Regions from separate parts of the Homo sapiens genome. Here region 2 is linked to region 1. Evidence: promoter capture Hi-C in human tissues and cell types (Jung and others, 2019). All regions are on one chromosome and are shown on one strand. Each heading gives the region's core, a stretch centred on a gene start or on the middle of the fragment in contact. The rest is flanking DNA. Distances are from core to core; before and after follow the strand shown.

What was found. The method cuts DNA at HindIII sites, captures the fragments that hold promoters and counts their contacts. A contact is called where the count stands out against the background at its distance.
Region 2: the fragment with the promoter of ZNF44 here is called in contact with the fragment with the promoter of ZNF136 in region 1 in 2 of the 25 tissues and cell types used here (IMR-90 fibroblasts and adrenal gland).

Annotation. Positions count from the first base shown.
Region 1 is chr19:12,158,408-12,164,810 of GRCh38, forward strand. ZNF136 (zinc finger protein 136) reads left to right here and starts at 4,689. Exons shown (of 4, transcript NM_003437.5): 1 at 4,689-4,799. The coding sequence starts at 4,797. RefSeq lists enhancers at 4,530-4,619, 4,630-4,789. The HindIII fragment of the contact is 18,447 bases long and covers 1,875-6,403 here.
Region 2 is chr19:12,292,225-12,298,436 of GRCh38, forward strand. ZNF44 (zinc finger protein 44) reads right to left here and starts at 2,659. Exons shown (of 4, transcript NM_016264.4): 1 at 2,468-2,659. The coding sequence starts at 2,470. RefSeq lists a silencer at 2,214-2,443 and an enhancer at 2,994-3,043. The HindIII fragment of the contact is 22,646 bases long and covers 1-6,212 here.

The DNA of each region.
Region 1 (6,403 bases), core at 3,439-5,938:
AGGAGGGGACAGAAGGGCATTTCAAACTCCCAGATAAATCCTTAATTTTCTCTGCCTCATCATCTGGGACTGACCCGCCCTGGGGGGCTCCATTTCAGCAGTCACAGTTTGGCTTCCAAGCTTGGAAATATCATTTACCTTCTGACAGAGGGTTTTCCTTGTGAACTGTGCATGAAGCAGGCTGCTTATCTGAACTACTTCAAATGTTTGCTTTACTTTTCTTTTGATTCCTTTATAAAATATTGCTGCCGGCTGGGCGCGGTGGCTCACGCCTGTAATCCCAGCACTTTGGGAGGCCGAGGCGGGCGGATCACGAAGTCAGGAGTTCGAGACCAGCCTGACCAACATGGTGAAACCCCGTCTCTACTAAAAATACAAAAATTAGCCGGGCGTGGTGGCACACGCCTGTAATCCCAGCTACTCAGGAGGCCGAGGCAGGAGAATCGCTTGAACCCGGGAGATGGAGGTTGCAGTGAACTGAGATTGTGCCACTGAACTCCAGCTGGGCGACAGAGCGAGACTCCGTTTCAAAAAAAAAAAAACATATATATATATATATATATATATATATATATATATATATACACACACACACTTATATATGTGTTTGTATATATACACATATATGTGTATATATACAAACACATATATAAGTATATATATACACATATATGTATATATATGTGTATATATATAGCTGCCATATAATTCCAGCTTTTCCATGCACTTAGTTTTATTCTGTTGTTGGCTTGTTGTTTTCTTGAGTGAAAATGAGTAGACTGAGAGATAAAGTATGAAAAATCTTTGGCTATCCCTCATCCCAAATTTATAATCTCTGACGACATCAGGCCTCTCTCCTCTTCCAGTGTTGGCCTGACTAGACCTCAAGGCAGACAACCTCCCCACCTCAAACCCCCTCCCCCCACCCCCACCTCCCCTGAAAGAAGGGCCCACTGAGTACAGGAAGACAACAGTGTCAGCTCTGGAAAGCCTGAAACATATTCTGAAATACCAGTATCCCCAGGGTGGGGGCCAGGCTGCAGTGCAAGGAGGAAATCCGGCTGTGGCTAGAATCTATATTTTTCTTTTCTTTTCTTTTCTTTTTTTTTTTTTTCGAGACAGGGTGTTACTCTGTCACCTAGGCTGGAGTGCAGTGCGCTGATCATAGCTAACTGCAGCCTCTACCTTCAAGGTTCAAGCAATCCTCTTTACTCAGCCTGCTAAGTAGCTGGGACTATAGTTGCAGGGCCACCAGGCTGGGCTAATTTTTTTTTTTTTTCTTTTTTTTTTAGAGATGAGGTCTCACTACGTTGCTCAAGCTGGTCTTGAACTCCTGGCCTCAAGCAGTTCTCCTTTCCAGCCCTCCCCGAGTCCTGGGATTGTATAGGTGTGAGCCACATGTCGGGCCTAGAACCTTTCATTCAAGCTCCACTCAGCCAGGTGTTAAATTCTCCTCTCACTCCGCCTCCCAGAAGGCGGGGCCCGTGGCACTGTCCAATCAGGAGGGGCGGGGGGGTGTGGCTGTGCAAATTGTCCAATCAGGCGCGGCTCTGGGAGGAGGCCGCGAAGCTCCATAAAACTGCGAGGCGTTCCTTTCACCCGCCCACAGTGGGTGTCAGGTCTATGCTGCTCTGAGAAGCACCAGAGGTGGCTTCGCTGCAGCTTCTTTCCAGCTGTGACTTGCAATGAACACGAAAGACATAAGGAGAACCATAGACACCTCAGAAGCCAGGAAATGGTGAGTGCTGGGGGGATGTCCCGAGACTGTGGAGCAAGGTGCTGGACAGGAACCTGCTGTGACGGGACCCAGGCCTGTCCGGGGCGACTTCGGGACCGGTGGACTGGAGTCCCCCTAGCGCAGCCACCGCGCCCGATTTAAGAGAGAATTTTCAATGGCTAAACTGCACATGTACATCTCCTGACACAGAGCACCTGGTGACAACCATCAACTGTGAAGGTCAGGGAGCTGCTGAAGCAGAAGAGAGTCCATATTTCATTAGTTTTTTTTTTTTTTTTTGGAGACGGAGTCTCGCTCTGTCGCCCAGGCTGGAGTGCAGTGGCGCGATCTCAACTCACTGCAACCTCTGCCTCTGGGGTTCAAGCAATTCTCCTGTCTCAGCCTCCCGAGTAGCTGGGACTACAGGCGCACACTGCCACGCCCAGCTAATTTTTTGTATTTTAGTAGAGACAGAGTTTCACCGTGTTGCTCTTGTTGCCCAGGCTGGAGTGCAATGGTGTGATCTCAGCTCACGGCAACTTCCGCCTCCCAGGTTCAAGCGATTCTCCTGCCTCAGCCTCCTGAGTAGCTGGGATTACAGGCACGCGCCACCACGCCTGGCTAATTTTGTACTTTTAGAGACGAGGTTTCTCCATGTTGGTCAGGCTGGTCTCGAACTCCTAACCTTAGGTGATCCGCCCGCCTCGCCCTCCCAAAGTGCTGAGATTACAGGCGTGAGCCACCGCGCCCGACCTTCATTAGTGGTTTTATATAACAGTTTGTTAATGTCGAAATAATAGTTTGCTGGCTTCTTCATTTTATCAAAGGAATAATTATTTGCCAGTTTTAAAATCCACTTAAAACTGTCTTGAAATTTTTCTCTTCTACTTTACGGTAAACACAGGAGGAAAGCAGGGACTCTGCTGGATTCTCTTTCGAACACTGGGATTGAGGGTGTTTGCCTCGTGGAACTGAACAATGTGGGTGAAAAGCAGGTGGAAAACTTGCAGGGGGCAGCATAGCCTGAGGCCGGTGATCCACACTGAGACTAATCTGGAGCCTGCAAAGGGAGGGAAAGGGAGCTCCCCCGATTGCTTCCTGGGCAGCCTGCCTTCCCCTGTAGGTAGTCTCCAGCTGCTCCGAACAGCTCCAGCTCCAGCTCCAGGAGTGTGGATTCTGAGAAGCTGCAGAGCCCTGGAAAGCAGGAACTTCACAGGCAAATGCACGTGCGGGTTTCTCTCCTTTCTGAGGTTGTACCTCTAGTTTCCCAAGGTAGTTTTCCGGAAAACTTTTTGTTTTTTGAGACGGAGTCTTGCTCTGTCACCCAGGCTGGAGTGCAGTGGCGCGATCTCGGCTCACTGGAACCTCTACCTCCCGGGTTCAAGCGATTCTTGTGCCTCAGCCTCCCCAGAAGCTGGGATTATAGGCGCCCGGCTAATTTTTGTAATTTTAGTAGAGACGGGGTTTCGCCATCTTGGCCAGGCTGGTTTTGAACTCCTGACCTCAAGTGATCCGCCCGCCTCGGCCTCTCAAAGTGTTGGGGATTACAGGCATGAACCACTGTGCCCGGCCTTGATTTTTCTATGTATAGAGTTGCTGCAGTCAGGCTGTAATTTGTATATATGAAGAAAATATGTAAAGATCATATTTAGAGACTCATTTAGGTAGCGTTCCAGAGAAATGGTTTATGAGCTAGAGAGGTTGGAATTTCAAGGGGCCTAAATTGACCACAGGTGAGAGTTTTCTGCTGGTGTAAATTATTAAGGTATTGAAGGAGGGAGCGTTCCCACATTGTGATGCTGTGACAGGAGGGCATGTTGAGCTCCCAGAGTTAAATCCTTAGGTTTCCTGCCTCATCATCAGGGTCTAATGTACTCTGTGGCTCCACTTCAGCAGTCACTGACTCTTAAGCTTGGGAATATGTTCTACCTTCTGAATTCATCTTTTCCTTTTTAAATGTTCTGAAGTGCCCTGCTTATCTGAGCTAGTTCAAATTTTCGCTTTACTTCCCTTTTGATTTCTTTACAGATTACGGAAATAGAACTTGTTTTTCCATGTATTTAATAATTTTATTCACTTGTTGGCAGTTTTTTATTTTCTTGGGTGAAAATGAGTAGATTGATTTGGGAGGCGAAAGTGGGAGGTTCACTTGAGGCTAGGAGTTCAAGACCAGCCTGGACAACAAACGAAATCCCGTCTCTACAAAAAATTAAAGAATTTGCCGGGCTTGGTGGCATGTACCTGTAGTCTCTACTACTCAGGGGACTGAAGCGGAAGGTTCGCTTGAACCCAGGAGATGGAGGCTGCAGTGAGCTATGATCATGCCATTGCACTCTAACCTGGGTGGCAGAGCTAGACCCTGTCTCAAATAAATAAATAAAGTAATAAATAAGTAAATAAAGTAATAAATAAGTAAATAAAGTAAAAAATAGAGAGAGATAAAGAGGTATGGTATGAGAAAGCCTTGGGCACGCTTCCCATATCCTCATCCCAAATTTCCGATCCCTGGGAATATCACGCCCTTTCTTCTGTTCCAGTCCTGCCTGGAACTCCCTGCGCACACCTGTGACTCCTCATGCAAGAGGTAGATGAAGAAATGACCCACTGAGTACAGGAAGTATCTCCTTTGGTAAACCCGGATTAAGTTCTGCTAAAATGCAAGTATCTCCCATCTCCCCATCCCCCGCAGACCAAGTACAGTGAAGGGGACGAGGGGAAGAAGTCCACCCTGCGTTTGAGGGCTGGGGCCAAGACCCCTCATTCCCGCTTCACTCATCTATGCTTCACATCTCCTGTCATTCACATCTGTCAAGATGCAGGGGGCAGAGCCCGAAGCTGTACCCAATCAGGGGCACCGGGGAGGAGCTCTGCGATCGGTCCAATCAGGCGCGCCGTCGGGGACGCAGCTGCAGACGTTCAACCTTCTCGCGGGATTTTCATTTCTCGCGTCTGCCGTACTTGGTTTCGCTTCGCTAGTCCCAGAGGCCCAGAGTGGCTCGCCTGGAGTCTCTGTGGCGCGGTTTCCTGTACCTGCCTTGGGATCCGGAGGGAGGAAGCTGGGACACCCGGGAGTCAGGAAATGGTGAGTGTGTCGGGCCCTGCGTCCCGAGACAGGGAGGAGGGGCTGGTTGGACGACCGGAACTGGCTGTGGCGCGGCCCGGGCCTTCCCGTGGGCGACTCTGGGTCTGCGTACCGAGTCCCTCTGGCGCAGCTCAGCCCTTGGTACCCTCGGCCTCAGGGTGGGGCTGGGCCGGCAGCCGGGACCCCGGGCGTCCTCGTCCCGCCCTGTGCCGCGATTGCGGCCCCGGCCCCGAAGACCCAAGTCTCTTCAGATTGTGCGGGGCCCACGCGAGGGTCATGGGGTGGGGGAAATCCTGACTTGTGCGTGGAAGGAGCTGTGGTGTATGAGGTTCCCAGTTCCTTTTCTCTCCACAGAGGACACCCGTTTTTCCCTGAGTTTTCTAAGTGTATGGGATGCAGGGTCCCAAATCCTCACTCTGTCCCCCAGCCTGCTGTTTCCAGGGCTTGCAGTAAATCCCCAAATTTCCTGTTCTCTTTTCGCTTTTCCAAACGCCAACCTCTCCCCTTCCATTCACGACATTAGCAACCGTTTCTCCTATATTCTACATTTCAGATATTGTGCTTTCATTGTTTATTTTTCAACAAAGCAATGGATTACTCTTTCATCAAGGTTTGTTTTCTGTTCATAGCCTTGACACTCCGCTGTAAGAAACCTTTGTGCTTGTCCTTTTGTCTCCTCTATGCACAGATACCTCATCAGAATGTCTTTGAGTTGAGGTTCCCCTTTGGAATCTTTACAGGGTGATATGCCTTCAGCGCCCCCTCCTATTTATTTTTTCCTGGTTCTGGGTTTCAAAACTGTCTGGGGCTGACTCAAGCTGCCCACAGCTGCCAAGTCTCTTGGAGGATCTAGTGAATATTGGGTCTTGGGTGAGTCTTCCTAGAGGACAGTTGAAATAGAAGGCTGGGAGAATGCCCTGGGACTAGGATAAATCTAGCATACCCTGCTTCTAAATAGCCAACCTCTGGGGGCACTCAGCTTTTCCTCCCCCAACCCCAGTTTCCATCCTTTGGAGACACACTGGTGGTCAGCCAATCAGATGCTGGTATTGAGGATTGAGAAAAGAAAATTTTTTGTGTGTTTTGAAAGAGTCTCGCTCTGTCGCCTAGGCTGGAGTGCAGTGACGTGATCTCGGCTCACTGCAACCTCCATCTTCTGGGTTCAAGCGATTCTCCTGCCTCAGCCTCCCCTGTAGTTGGGACCACAGTTTTGCGCCACCACTCCCAGATAACTTTTTTTTTTTTTTTTTTTTTTTGAGACGGAGTCTCTCTGTCGCCCAAGCTGGAGTGCAGTGGCGTGATGTCGGCTCACTGCAACCTCTGCCTCCCGGATTCAAGCGATTCTCCTGCCTCAGCCTCCCCAGTACCTGGGACTACAGGCGCATGCCACCACGCCCGGCTAATTTTTTGTGTTTTTAGTAGAGACGGAGTTTCACCTTGTTAGCCAGGATGGTCTTGATCTCCTGACCTCGCGATCCGCCTGCCTTGGCCTCCCAGAGTGCTGGGATTACAGGCGTAACTGTACCCGGCCTCAAAAAAATAATTTTCGTCTGATAAATGTGGGTCCTTTTAAATGAACGGGCACATAGAGACATTCAAGTGAT
Region 2 (6,212 bases), core at 1,409-3,908, 130 kb after region 1:
CAGGCAGTCTAGGCTGCCTAAGCTGCAGTGAGCCATGATGGTGCCACTACACTCCAGCCTGGGCAACAGAGGGAGACCCTGTCTTATAAAAAATAAAAATAATAAAAAAAAGGAATAGAAAACTACATATATATAATTTGTTTTCTGAATTCCAACTCTTTCTGGCCTCTTTAGAAACACTTTATCTTCTCTATAATCTCTAATGATAGGATGCCCTTTACAGTTAATAAAAAATTAAATTGGAAATAACTGAACAAATCTTTTCAGGGTAACTAACCCAGGGTGGGGCAGAACTGACTGGAACACAGACAAGTCTCACTCAACCGTCAGGTCAGGTCGTTCTATCACCTGGCACATCCGCCAGCCCCACGGTGCTCATTGAAGTGCTCAGCAACCACATTCCTAGGAGACACTGCCTTATGTCTTTTTCAGGCTCATGCAAAACCTCATTGGGTGGGTTTTTCAGTTTTTAGAAACAGTTTTCTAGCTTCACAGTCGGAGAGAGTCCAGAAGGCAGAAATCATTTGTCTTGTCCCCTGAATAACACCATCCAATTTTCTGATAAGCCATGCGTCACCAAGGAATGGAAACTAGGCTTGGGGAAAAAAATGTCAATGTCCCAGAGGTTAGGTTTTTTTTTTTTTTTTTTTTTTTTTGAGACAGAGTTTCCCTCTTGTCGCCCAGGCTGGAGTGCAATGGCATGATTGTGATTTCGGCTCACTGCAACCTCCACCTCCCAGGTTCAAGTGATTCTCCTGCCTCAGCCTCCCATGTAGCTGGGATTACAGGCACCTGCCACCATGCCCGGCTAATTTTTGTATTTTCAGTAGAGATGGGGTTTCACCATGTTGGCCAGGGTGGTCTTGAACCCCTGACCTCAGGTGATCCGCCCGCCTCGGCTTCCCAAAGTGCTGGGATTACAGGCGTGAGCCACCGCGCCCAGCCCAGGGGTTAGCTTTTTACAGGAATGATATACCAGAAGATTCCTCCCACCCCAGTGCATCCACCTGATCCTTTGGGAGGCCCCACTCCAACACCTCAGGCTGTCCTCTGGGAAGAGTGACCCAAGGGCCGATATCCACTAGGCCCTCCATGAGATTGGCAGCTTCCAGCATCTTAGGGTAGCCCCAGAAAGTTCCATAACACAGGGCCTGGAAAAGATACAGGGTGGGCTGAGGTCACATCACCCTGTAAAGGACATACTGAGAAGGCATCTGTGCCTAGGGGAGATAAAAGAGGCACAAAGGTTTGGTTTTTTTTACAGCAGTGTCAGGTGGTTATTCTCTTCTTCCTCACATGTGAAATGTTAAGGAAAACAAAATAAATCTGTTTAAAAAGAGCCATACATTGCTATCTGAAAACAAACGACAAAATTCTGTGTCTATTTGAAATATCGTCTTGCTGACAAAGGGTTCATAACGTTACTGGGAATTGAGGAGTGAAGTTAGCATATGGAAGGCTCTGGAAACCAAAAGATTTACTGTTAGCCCCAAGAGGAGTTAGGATGAAGGGACAGGTCTCAAAGACCCTGATGCCAATATCTTTGAAAGCCTCGGAGGAGAAATGGTCGCCCTTGGAAAGAAAGGACTGAAGAGCACAGAGACCACAGCTCCTCCCACACACAAACCCCACACACGAGTCTGGTTTGTGCCTAGTGACCCTCCCACCGTCACCGTGCAGCCTCCTCACCGGGCTCACAGGAACTGCGAGCCAGGCTGGAGGCGAGATTGCAGTTAGATATTAACCAGGTGCCCTCAGCCCCGCTGCTTCACAGGAAGCCGCCTCCCTGAGAGTCAGGTCACAGCAGACGCTGACCGCCGGCTTCCCCATTGGCCTGGGGATAAGATCTCTGAGAGTTGCTCAAGAGTCGTCTAAGTTCTTTCTCAGATCTTGAATTCCAGCGGAAAGGCTGGCGCCAAGCAGGCTGAAGACCCCACAAGGAAGCCCACTCAGCAGCAGAATGCGGTTTCTTCACCTCCAGTCCCAAGATTCACCCCTCACTTCTCCACCAACCAGCGACCCCACATCCCAACCACCCCCGTCCAGACCCCTAAACACCCCATCCTCAAACCTCTCACGGAGGCGGATCTAGGGTGTCCTCTCCTATTAAACCGTTTCTGCTGCAGCCCTCGGCGTCCGGGTGCAGTGACTTGGGCTGCGAACCTGTACTGGTTCCGCCGCACAATCTGGGGAGAAGCGGGGCTGAGGGCGCGGAGCTGCCCAGAGAGGGGCGCCGGGGCCGGGGCCGCAGTCGCAGCTCAGGGACGGGACAGGACGCCCGGGGTCCCGGCTGCCGGCCCAGCCCCACCCTGCGGCCAAACGGACCGAGGACCGAGGTGCGCAGGGGGCGCTCAGGTCCCAGACCCCAAAGACGCTGCGGCGAGGCCCGGGTCCCGCCACAGCCGGTTCCGACTGGTTCCGACCAGCCCTTCGCCCTGCCTCAGGACGCCGGGCCCCGCACACTCACCATTTCCCGGCTGTGCGGTGTCCCGGGTCCTCCCAACTCCCGTAGTCAGGGTAGGTCCCAGCGCGACAAAAGCCACCACAGATGTCCCAGGGCGTCTCTCAGTGACAGAATACGGAACAGAGGTCACCAGGGTGAAGAGGCCACTAGCTCCTGGAACGTCACACCCTCCTCTCTGCCTCGCGCCTGATTGACAATTCTCAGGAACCCGCCCACGACTTTGATTGGGTAGCCCTCCAGGTCCCGCCTCCTGGGCACTGAGTGACAGAAGAAGCGATCTCACAGTGCTGAGTGCAGCCGGATGAACAGGTTCCAGACCCGGCCCCTGGCAGGGCGGGCTTCCTCCCTGCGTTGTGACCCGACCCGTCCCGGGAAACGTTTGCCTTAAAGCGGAATTTCCTACCTGTACGCAGTGGGCCCTTTTTGCTTCTTCCTCCTGAACAATTGTGTGCAAGGAATCCCAGACTCACTGTCCAGTGGAGCCATCCCTTGGCCTCAGAGCAGGAGGGCAGCCGAGGCCACACAGGCCACACTGTAGCAGCGGGGGACAGGGGGTGGGTGGGTGGGGGGGTGGTGCTGATGTCCTCCAGGGACCAGGAATTTGGGATGAGGCTGTCGCCTGCAAGGTCAAGCCTTTCTTCCACTATAAGCGCTGGATGGGTTCTTTCTGCGCGCTACGCAAATAAAGACCACGGTATTGCAGTTAAAAAAAAAGTTTAATAAACACTAGGCCAGCTACGATACGTGAGAGACGGAGTTACTACTCAAATTATTCTCATCCAAGGTCCTCTGGTAGGGGTTTTTCAAGGGCAGTTTGGGAGAAAGGGTGGAGGTAGCTAGGCTTGCTACTGACTGGTTGGGGTGGGGATGAAATCACTGGGGATGGAATCTGTCCTCTTGGCAGTGCGTGGTGGCTCACCGCTGTAATCCCAATACTTTGGGAGGCCTAGGTGGGAGGATCGCTTGAGGCCAGTAGTTCAAGACCAGCCTGGACATAGAGTGAAACTCCGTCTCTATACTATAAGGGAGGAGACCACCCCTCATATTGTCTTATGCCCAATTTCTGCCTCCAAAGAAGAAGTAAAAACTAAAAGGCAGAAATGAAATCCACAGGCAGATAACCCGGCTTGTGCCCTGGGCTGGGTAGTTAAAAATCAACCTCTGACCTAACTGTGTTATCTATGATTCCAGACATTGTATGGAAAAGCACTGTGAAAATCCCTGTCCTGTTCTGTTCAGTTCTGGTTACCGGTGCATGCAGCCCCCAGTCACGTACCCACTGTTTGCTCCATCAATCACGACCCTCTCACGCGGACTCCTAGTTGTAAGCCCTTAAAAGGGACAAGAATTGCTCACTCGGGGAGCTCGGTTTTTGGAGACGTGAGTCCGCCGATGCTCCCAGCCCAGCTGAATAAAGCCCTTTCCTTCCACAACTCGGTGTCTGAGGGGTTCTTGTCTGCGGCTTGTACTGCTACATATTTAAAAAAGAAAAAAAGAGGCCGGGCCCGGTGGCTCACACCTGTAATCCCAGAACTTTGGGAGGCCCAGGCGGGCGGATCACCTGAGGTCGGGAGTTTGAGACCAGCCTGACCAACATGGAGAAAGCTCGTCTCTACTAAAAATACAAAATTAGCTGGGCGTGGTGGCACATGTCTGTAATCCCAGCTACCTGGGAGGCTAAGGCGGGAGAATCACTTGAACCCGGGAGGTGGAGGTTGCGGTGAGCTGAGATCGCGCCAAGCCGAGATCGTGCCTTTGCACTCCAGCCTGGGCAACAAGAGCGAAACTCCGTCTCAAAAAAAAACAAAAAAAAGACAAAAAAAAAAAAAACCTATCCTGTTATGCTGAATCACTTCTGGTTGGGGCCACAGGAGCAGAGTTGGCAGGTGCAGGTGGTGTCAGACATGCAAAAAAAAAACAAACAAACAAACAAAAACTGAAAATACGTCTACAAATGCTAATCTACAATAGTGGTGTTATCTGCAGAAATAGCTGGCAATCTATGTCTACACTTTAGCAGCATTCCGATTCCTTTCATCCCTCAGCCTGATGGCCATTCATTCGTTTTACAAAGGCAGTTGAGTTTTGGGGAAGGCTTATTATCATTTAAGCTATCTTCCAAAGTTAGCTGTGCCTAAGAGCCCAGGATTAAGGGAAAGAGAAGACAGAGGGTTGGCAGGGGCGGGGGGCGGGGCGGGGCAGAACGGGTGTTGGCTCAGATCTCTTCCACTGCCATAATTTTCTCACTGATATAATTTTTTTGCGATCTATTCATTTTCATCCCAGAAAATAAAAACACATCAACAATGAAATGAAATTGTTAAATGTGTGAAAAAACTGGAATTATAGGGCAGCATGGTTGTTTTTTTTTTGTTTTATTTTGTTGTTTTTGTTTTTGTTGTTGTTGTTTTTGAGATAGAGTCTCACTCTGTTGCCCAGGCTTGAGTGTAGTGGCGCGATCTCGGCCCACTGCAACCTCCGACTCCCAGGTTCAAGCGATTCTCCTGCCTCAGCCTCCCGAGTAGCTGAGACTACAGGTGCACACCACCATGCCCAGCTAATTTTTGTTTTTTTAGTAGAGATAGTGTTTCACCATGTTGGCCTGGCTGGTGTTGAACTCCTTACCTCAGGTTTATTTGCTTGCCTCTGCCTTCCAAAGTGCTGGGATTCCAGGCATGAGCCACCACACCTGGCCTGACAGCATGTATTCTATTAAAGGAATCAGAAGAGAAGAAAAGAAAAAATATCTCGTTCAGGGAAGTAAGCAGGAAACCCCCTTTCAGGAAGTTAAACAGATTCCCGAGCTTGAGAGCCAGACTCTTGACTCCTGAAATGGAGCCCCAGAGTGGATCAGCACCTGATGATGAGGGAGAGACATTGAAGGATTTAACTCTGGGAGCTCAACTTGCCCTCCTCTGCACAGTGTAGAAACACTCTTTCCTTCAAGACTTTAAATGTTAATGACTTAAAAGCTCCAATCGGAAGCCGAAACATTAGGGAATGAATTTGAAAACATGAGGGTTTCCCCATATTTCTATGAAGCAAAAGTAGAAAACCTAAAACCACCATGAACTGGAAGCTGGAACTAATGGCTAAAAAAGAAAGGAGTCAAACATCAGGTGTCATTCGATGAAATAAAATCTTTATTCAATTTGTAAAAATGGTAGTGTTTCCAGACAGGAAAAATGGGCATGTTTGGAAAATAAGGAAAAGAAATGATATCTGATTATAGCTAACAAATAAATGATACTCTTGCCTTCAAAAATCACACAAAGACACACACACACACACACACACACACAGAGAGAGAGAGAGAGAGAGAGAGAGAGAAAGAGAGATATCCTATCACCTAGCACTTTGGGAGGCCGAGGCAGGCGGATCACAAGTTCAGGAGTTGGAGATCAGCCTGGCCAGTATGGTGAAACTCCGTCTCTACTAAAAATACAAAAATTAGCTGGGCATGGTGGGGCGCGGTGGCTCACGCCTGTAATCCCAGCACTTTGGGAGGCCAAGGCGGGCAGATCACGAGGTCAGGAGATTGAGACCATCCTGGCCAACACGGGGAAACCCCATCTCTACTAAAAATACAAAAAAATTAGCCGGGCGTGGTGGCGGGCGCCTGTAGTCCCAGCTACTCGGGAGGCTGAGGCAGGAGAATGGCGTGAACCCAGGAAGCACAGCTTGCAGTGAGCTGAGATCATGCCACTGCACTCCAGCCTGGGTGACAGAGCGAGACTCCGTCTCAAAA